Regions from separate parts of the Homo sapiens genome. Here regions 2 and 3 are each linked to region 1. The links are contacts of gene promoters, found by promoter capture Hi-C in blood cells and fetal thymus (Javierre and others, 2016). All regions are on one chromosome and are shown on one strand. Each heading gives the region's core, a stretch centred on a gene start or on the middle of the fragment in contact. The rest is flanking DNA. Distances are from core to core; before and after follow the strand shown. Region 1 holds the start of CITED1 (Cbp/p300 interacting transactivator with Glu/Asp rich carboxy-terminal domain 1). Region 2 overlaps NHSL2 (NHS like 2). Region 3 overlaps PHKA1 (phosphorylase kinase regulatory subunit alpha 1).

What was found. The method cuts DNA at HindIII sites, captures the fragments that hold promoters and counts their contacts. A CHiCAGO score of 5 or more calls a contact.
Region 2: a contact is called between a fragment that was not itself captured here and the fragment with the promoter of CITED1 in region 1, in 1 of 17 cell types (total B cells). The highest score is 5.6, in total B cells.
Region 3: a fragment that was not itself captured here is called in contact with the fragment with the promoter of CITED1 in region 1 in 5 of 17 cell types (monocytes, megakaryocytes, M1 macrophages and 2 more); the score reaches 9.7 in monocytes.

Annotation. Positions count from the first base shown.
Region 1 is chrX:72,304,492-72,307,254 of GRCh38, forward strand. CITED1 (Cbp/p300 interacting transactivator with Glu/Asp rich carboxy-terminal domain 1) reads right to left here and starts at 1,423. Exons shown (of 3, transcript NM_001144887.2): 1 at 1,334-1,423. LOC105373250 (a long non-coding RNA gene) reads left to right here and starts at 1,611. Exons shown (of 3, transcript XR_938441.2): 1 at 1,611-1,729. RefSeq lists a silencer at 2,408-2,702 and an enhancer at 2,429-2,478. The HindIII fragment of the contact is 8,247 bases long and covers 1-2,763 here.
Region 2 is chrX:72,017,730-72,020,492 of GRCh38, forward strand. The region is part of intron 1 of NHSL2 (NHS like 2); the gene reads left to right. Among named protein-coding and RNA genes, the nearest start is that of NHSL2, 110 kb to the left of the region's middle. RefSeq lists a silencer at 751-1,130 and an enhancer at 1,111-1,160. The HindIII fragment of the contact is 206 bases long and covers 1,285-1,490 here.
Region 3 is chrX:72,577,340-72,580,102 of GRCh38, forward strand. It overlaps PHKA1 (phosphorylase kinase regulatory subunit alpha 1), which reads right to left. Exons shown (of 32, transcript NM_002637.4): 32 at 1,475-2,763. Among named protein-coding and RNA genes, the nearest start is that of HDAC8, 5.9 kb to the left of the region's middle. The HindIII fragment of the contact is 3,710 bases long and covers 1-2,763 here.

The sequences.
Region 1 (2,763 bases), core at 173-2,672:
GAGCCCTAGCACAATCAGTATCAGACAATTTTCCTGTCCTAAGAAAAATGTCTGGGGGCCCTGTCCATCTTTTCCTGTTCCTATCCAGCCTTCCCTCTCCTTTTTGCCGCTTGGTACCCGAATGTACAAAACGAAGAAAAAACAACAGGAGCAGCAGCAACAACAGCAAAACCAAAAGAGAAACATTAGAAAAATCAAAAGAGAGAACGAGCAAAAAAACTCTCTCTATTCTGATATCAGTTCGTGGGGGAAGACCATTTTACCGCGCCTCCCTCTTCAATCTGGGAGCTCCCCCAGAAGAGGCCCTGTGTCCATTCAGATCTTCTGCCTTCCATTACTGACCCACCACCCACCCTGACCCCAGCCTGGGTCTGCGCTCAATAGGCGCTCAGTAAGTGTTGTTGAATGCGTCTGAAGAAGCAATCGCATTTCCATCGGCATCCCTGGCTCTGCTTCCCCGGCTTTCTGCCCTCCTCCACCACCCTCTAGCCCGTTCGTGGGCAAAACTTGGCAACGCGGAAACGTCCCAGCCCGCTCTCCAAGCCGCGAGCTGACCACTGCGAAACGGCTGCGACAGGCGGCTGGGAAACCTAGAGCAACAAGTGCCTTCTCGCCGGCTGATGCCTGGCGGCCCCCCGGCCACCAGTTCCCAGTCCCGCTGCCCGCTCTTCGCTTCAGGCCTTCCCTTGGGCGAGCAGCCCCCTCCCGCCTAGACAGGGGTGGGAAGGGGAGAGGGAAAAGAGAAGGGAGAGGCAGGTGGGGGCCTCATCTTTAACCTGTTGGGGGACCAAAAGTTAAAATGGCACCAACCGGATGGTTCCATCTCGATTGCTATTTTCTCACTCAGAAGGAGAAATTTAAAAATCCAAACAGCACTGCGGCTTGGCTTGGACGCGCTCTAACCAGACCAGTCAGTTTCGCCACCTGAAAACTAAAGGCCCGTTGTTTGCGGACAGCTCGGCTGCCCTCCTCGCCGCATCCCAGATGGAGCCGCGGAACCGGGGGCGGCCGGGAGCATCCCTTGCACGGCGGGCGCGTGCACCCAGGCCACCGGGGCCCTGAGCGTCCGTTCCCGCAAGTGCTGTATCAGGAACTGATCTTAGAGACAGGATGGACAGGCAGGAAGGGGCACGGGGTGTCGGCCTCCGCGGCGAGTCCGCACTCCGGCGCCGGCTGCTGCCACTCTCGCGCCTGATCAACACTTACTGAGCGCCCGCTGAGCATCCGACGCGGCAGCAGGCTGAGCCTACCCCCTAGCCAAGCCGCCTGCGGTCAGTGCTAAAACCCCGCTAGGAGAAGAGTGAGAGAGGCTCGGAGAGGTGCGGTAACTTGCCCAAGGTCACAGCGCTAGAAAGTGGCGGAGCCGGGATTCGCAGCCAGGTCTCTCTGACTCCAAGTCCGGTGCTCTGCGAAGCAGGGACTCGGCGCGCGGCTCGCCAGCCCGCGTTTATAGGGAGAGGGGTGTGCGCGTGGGTGTGTGTGTGTGGGCGTGTGTCGGGGGAGGGGAGGGCTGAGGTCGACTGGGCAGTAGAGGCAAGTTGCCCAAATTCGCTAACTTCCATCCCGCAATTCCGCTGAACTCGGCCCGAAAAGCCCCCTCTTGCCTCAATTCCCCGAAGTAAATCTGAGCTTTGTGCAGCTCCGGAGCCAGAGCGTCCAGATGCGGTCCGGGAGATTAGCAAAGTCGGTGGAAGCCAAGCTGGAGAAAGCGCGGGCGCAGGGAGAAAAGGTGCTGCCGTCTCCCCGGGAGAAGCGGGCACCCGGCCCCGCTGGCCGGCAGGGGGGCGCGCTGGCAAGCGAACCCGAGCGCTGGCGGGCGGGCGGGCGGGCGGCCCCTCGCCCCCAGCAGAGCAGCTTTCCAACAGAAAGCAAGTCTCCCCAGAACCCTCCGGCCCGCCTGGCGGCCGCCCACTCCCCATACCCGCTCCACGGGAGTCCTCGGCCCCGCCGCCCAGCCCGGCGCCCAGCCCGGCGGCCCGGCTTACCTCTGAGAAGCCGCCTGCCCTGGAGAGAGGGAAGCGCGGAGCTCGGTGAGCCGCAAGAGAGGCGGCGGAGCCCCCAGCCCCTGGCACGCACGCCGCCGCCACCGCTACCGCGAACCGGTCGCGCTCAGCGCCCGCGGCCGCGCCGTTGGCCACCCGACCCCGGGGCGCCTGGGAAAAGCCCGCACCGCGCCGCGCCGCCGCTGCACCGCACAGTGCCGCGCCAAGCAGCCCCTGACCGAGCTGGTGCCCGCCCGCCCGCCCGCAGCTTCGGCGCCGGACTCCGGGGCGGTGGCGGTGGCGGCCACCGCGCTCCCTTCCCGGCGCTGGGGACCCGGCTCTCAAGCCCCCATTGCCGCCCGGAGAGCCCTGACGCACACGCACACGGCAGCAGACTGGCCTCGGCTAGGAATCCCAGGAAGGACAGACCCTTTTTTTCCCTTTTTTTTTCTCCCCTCAATTTCCACGTCTTTATAACCGGCTTAGGGCATTATTAGCACATGTCCTGGCTCGTGGGCGAGTTGGTGGCAAAATCTGAACTGGATACTCACGGAGGGCCCGCGCGGGTGCTGTGCCGTCCGCTGCTCTCTTCCTCCTCACCGAGAACTGCCCCTCGCCGGCGGACTACAAGAGGGCAGCCGGGCAGAGCGAGCTTCCTCTCGGCAGCTCAGCGGTGCCCCTTCTGCAGCTTTGCCGCCGGGCACATTTTTATAGCAGCGGCTGGCGTCTGTGGCCCTTTAAAGGCGCTCGAGCTGGTGCAGTCACCGCGGATCGTGTGAAA
Region 2 (2,763 bases), core at 138-2,637, 290 kb before region 1:
GACCTAACTGTCTAACAAAGCTGGCAAAATATTACTCAGATAGAAGGCAGAATCAATTGTAGTAGATACCTGAGTAGAAGTACAAAGTGATGTATGGATTTTAATTGCCCCACTTTTTGAAATCCGATCTATCACTAAGTCCTTCCCATTCCCAGATCTGTAATCTTTTTTTTTCCCCTCATTTTCCTGACTCTAATTTAGACCCTGCTGAGCCTGCTGGGGTCTCAGGTGCTACTCCTCCAATCTGTTTTCCTTTGGTGCAGCTTTCGAACTCACAGCTCTGATCACTGCCCTCTGCCCTATATAATCTAAAACATATTTACAGAATCAAGCCCAATGCTTACCTGACTTTCTTCTTAAATGCCATTTATAGCTTTTCTTTTCTTTCTAAAATGGTAAATGTTTATTATGGTGCTTGACTTTCAAGGACCTCTATGAGGTGGTCCAACCTACCCTTCCTTTGCTTGTGTGGGGGTGAGGACCTGGGAGGTTAGGGGGACCATGCAGCTTGATGCTATGGAAAGCACACCTCGAGCTCTGGAATCAGAGGTTACTGGTTAATCTAGGCCCTCCCCTGCTTCTTATCTGCTTGACCCCGGCCCTCGCCTCACCGTTCCCCCGCCCAGTTTCCCTCTTGTTAAGGTGGTGTGATAAAAACGACCCCTATCCCGGGTTAGAGGTGAAAACTCAACGCGACAAGTGGAGGAGAGCGGGCTTTTAGCGCCAGAAGCTTCCATGATGCCCAGGTCCGCGGGCAGGGCGAGGGCACGGGCCGGGGAAGCAAGCGTTGCCGCGCCGCTACCGTCGGGGGCCGGCCCCCGGGCTGCTTTTCGTGCGCGGAGCAGCTCGGCCAGTCACCAGGCGCGTGCGGAGGCGGCGAGCCTGCGAGGGCGGCCGGTGCGGGCGCAGCCGGCGCGATGAGTCACCATCCCTCAGCACCTCCGGAACACGAGGCTGCTTGGAAGCAGCCGGGCCCCCGCCCGCCCTCCTCCCCCGCCCCGCGGAGTGGCGGCGCCAGCCCGATGCCCGGCAGAGGGCGCTGCAGTGCGGCTGCGGGGCCACCGGCCCGCGCTGCTCTGGCTGCCAAAGGCCGGCGCTGCCTTTGGCTCAGAGGGAAAGATCGGGGCCCAGGGATGGGGTGCGTGAGGAATGAATGTTTCTGCAGTGCCAGAGGTGGCTCTGTTTTTGATCCAGAAACGAAATGGACTTCAAGATTCAGACACTGGGCAGAGTGATGGGGCCGACACGGCCCCTACTGGAGAGTGTCCAGTCTTGATCGCCCCAAGCTTTTGAGCAGGGATGTCCTGTCCGAGGCTGGTGTCGTCCCCACTCTCGCCAGAGAGGATCTGTGATAGGATGAGTCTCGCCTTTCCAAAATGAATCTGCCTAAGGACCCAGTCCTTGATCTCCTCTGTGACCTCTTTCACCTGAGGTGATGGAGGTTACGAAGATTGGAGCTGTCTGCAGTGGAGCGCAGGAGAAAGTGCACAAGCTTTCGGGTGACCAGGGTTTCAGTGCCAGCTCCATCATGAGATTGCTGTGTGACCTTGGTCATTTCATTATTCATTCATTCATTCAGAAAACACTCACTGTGTCACAAGGCACTCACGGTGAAGGGAAGAGAAGGAGGCCAAGCCTGTGGAGACAATTGCCCTGACCATAAAATAGCTTAGGCCAGGTACAGAAACCCGACACGTAGGTAAACACTGGCTGAATGAACAAATGCGATGATTTAGTCACCACACACTAGGGCAGAGATTTTTGGTCACTTATGCTCCCGAGTACATGGAACAGTGCCTGACACACAGTGGGTGCTCAGTAATTTGTCGAATGAATGACAGAGGAATGTACTGAGTGTTCTGTGAGCACAGCAGAGGCCACCTAACTCACAAGATTCTGTGCTGTTTGAACCGAGTCTTGAAGGAAGGGTTGGGATTAGTTAGGCAGACAAGGGCCAGATGGAGGGTGATACAGGCAGAGAACAGCCTGTGCAAAAGCTAGGAGTCCTCAGAGTTCTCACCTCTCTGAGCCTCAGTCCCTCCTGTGAGAAGGAAAGGATAGGGCTGGCTCTGTAATTTCTCAGATTTTTCTAGATCTAAGGTTCTCAGATTCAACAAATGAATCCAGTTACCCTAGTCAGAGCCTGACCAGTGCTGGGCAGTCCAAGAGACTCAGGTTTTGACTTTTGACTCAGCCCATCTGCAGAATAAAGGCCTGGTGATCTCAGGCACCCCTTCTCCATCTGCTTCCTCTGTCTTTCACCTTAGAAATCTCCCCTGAATCCTATCCCCATAGGATAAACTATCTGCAGCACAAAAGTCAGCACTTACTTGTATTCTGCCATGATTTTTCTTCGTGTTATTTTTTGAAATAGTCTTTATTTACAGATTTTTACACTAACACAGGCTAATTGTGAAAAAACAGGAAAGTACAAAGAAGAACATAAAAACTCTCCGTAATTTCACTACCTGGCATAGTTCCTTGATTTTTTTATGCCTTCATTAAAATACACACACACACACATACTTCAGCTCACACAGCAGCACTGACACAGATCGCTGTGAGTCTTGTGTTCCCAGCAAAAGCATGAGCTGGGGACAGTTCTCTCTTTCTCTCCATTAGTTTGTCTCTGATGGGAAGAGATGTTGGCTGGGACCCCAAAACTCTGACTCTTTAACCAGCTGCAGATCATCAGGCTAAATCCTCAAAGAACATACTGCTCAGAGGACGTTTCAGTCTGAGGCAGGGCTCTGGACGCAAACC
Region 3 (2,763 bases), core at 181-2,680, 270 kb after region 1:
TATCTATCTTACATGGCAATTGTGAAGATAAAATGGCTCACGCTAAGTGCCTATATAACAATGGCATTTGGTATGTGCTCAAATATTGGTTATTTAAGAGCCATTATGCCAAATATTTCTATATTTGGTGGGGAAGGGAGTTTCCCCCTACTGTCATCCTTACCCCCATACCACTACTGCACAAGTACTACTAGTGGTTTGAGAATAAGTTCTTGGTTTTTTGGCTTAGCCTTAAAAGAAATCACACATCTGCTAAATATAGGGTGACCATATCTTTCAAACTGAGACATTTTTTGAGAGTGACACAGTGCTATTGATAATTATGCCAGTAAAACAGGCATAAATGGGGGCTGCCCTGGACAAACCAACACCTGAGGTTACTCAAGTTAAAAAGGAAATGAATGTCTACCAAATATAAGAATAAAAATTGATGGCTGTATTTTTTTAAAATTAAATAAATAAAAAGGAAATGAAGACTACATGTGGAAAATAATCTCCACTGCATTAGTGCAGACACTAGGTACTTGGTAAGTAGAAAAAGGAATGGCAGAGGTTTTGCCAGCTGTGGTGAAGAACAACTTTTGCCCCACCAGTTGTGTAAGATTCCCAGAATGTAGTAAAATTTCATTAACCAGGATGGAACTGTAGAGACAATGTTCATCCTTGCTGGATAAATCCTGTTATAGAAAAGGCTAATGAATAGTATAAACAAACAAGATTCTGCCAAATATTTTTAATATTTAGAAAAACAAGTTGTTTTAAAATACCCTTCATTAGGGAAGAAGCACCATTTGTACACAATTGAAAGGCTGAGTAAAAATGTTTTACTCATTCATCAGAAAATGTTCCCTACAGGCCAGGCGCGGTGGCTCACGAGTGTAATCCCAGCACTTTGGGAGGCTGAGGCAGGCGGATCACCTGAGATCAGGAGTTTGAGACCAGACTGGCCAACATGGTGAAACCCCGTCTCTACTAGAAATACAAAAAAAATTAGCTGGGTGTGGTGGCGCATGCCTGTAATCCCAGCTACTCGGGAGGCTGAGACAGGAGAATCGCTTGAATCCGGGAGGCAGCGGTTGCAGTGAGCCGAGATCACCCCACTGCACTCCAGCCTGGGCGATAGAGCAAGACTCCGTCTTAAAAAAAAAAAAAAAGAAAAGAAAAGAAAAGAAAAGAAAAGAAAAGAAAAGAAAAGAAAAGAAAAGAAAAGAAAAGAAAATGTTCCCTACAGATGTCAATAAGCCCGCTTGAATTTAGTAAGCCTTGTTTGAGTGGGTATGTATTTGAATGATTAAACTGCATTTCTTTACATATATTATCTAACATATTATGAAATGTATAATATATTATATATGTATTAATATATTAATATTATTCTACTTCAACCCAATGAATGAGCTTTGACTGTACTGTATAATTAAGCAGAGTATGTAGAATAAAGCCATGAAATAAACTCCAATCACAAAAACACATGTGAAGTTTTGCACATTGGCACCAGACATGATTTAATTGGAAATTCTTATTATTTATTCTATTTTCAAAACATAAGTGCTTTTTTAAAAAAAGTCTAACATGTCTTTTTAGTACCACACACTTAAAATGAACAAAAAACAAGTCGAGTTTTCTTAAAAGTTGCTTTAAAAGTTAAATACCACTGTATGGGGACCATAATGACACAATTTCGTAAACTCAGAGAAATGCAGCCCTTCGAGTAAGTTCAGGCAAATGAGTGTGGGAAGGAGTGGATCTTTTGCCTGTGGCACTACAGATATACTCCCTGAGATTGGGGTACACTTACAACCAGTGAAAAGACAAATAGTTTCAGAACAGGTTGTAAACTTTCTTTAAAAGTGACCAGAAAATAATGTAGTCAGAAAGCTACTTACTGTGTGTTTCCATTTGCTCTGAGAGAAGTGCTGAAAAGGTTTGCTGTCCTCTCTTTGTTTCTACTATCTGTATTCTATCACCCTACTATATGCTTACTTATTCATTATATTCATAAGATTGTCACTGGTTCTGCAAGAATTGTTCAGAGAGTCTCTCATCCCCACCCTCACCATTCCCAATATTGGGGAAAAACTTTAGAAATCCAAGATAAAGGAGGGGGTTGAAGTAGGAAGTTATCTAAGTGCAAAAAGGGAAGTTAACAGAGTCTCTGCACAATTCAGAAGAAGGAGAGTTAGAAGAAACATTTGTCAAGCAAGGCTACCTACATATGGGATGAAGGAAGAGGACTGAAGCTATTCTTCCACCAATCTGTGTGTGTCAATCTGAGTCCACAGTCACATCCCTTCTCTCACATGCAACATTCTTACTCAGTCCATCAAATGTAGATACAGATTGATATACAGACACATCAAAACTGCTTACATTCAGAAAAATTCCCATGTATGCTTATACACACACACACACACACACACACATACACACACAAATATGTGTCTTTATAAGAAACAGACATATGCCCACAGATACCATGATATACAGGGATATGTACACTAGAATTAGGAAGTGAAAATATATATGAAAGAGTTTAAGAATAGATGGGGGGATAGGGTGTCAGGGAGTTGAGTTGGATGTAGTAGAAAGTAGGTGAGTGAGACAGAGACCAGGAGCACATGAAAAGAATGCTAAGTAGAGCACCTATAGACTGGACTGCTGTATTTATCTTTGCTGAATACAGACGCTTCAAATTATTGTCTGTGTTGTGTATTGGCCCATTTTTCAAAGGCAGGGATTAAGCGCATAAGGCTGTCTTCAGGG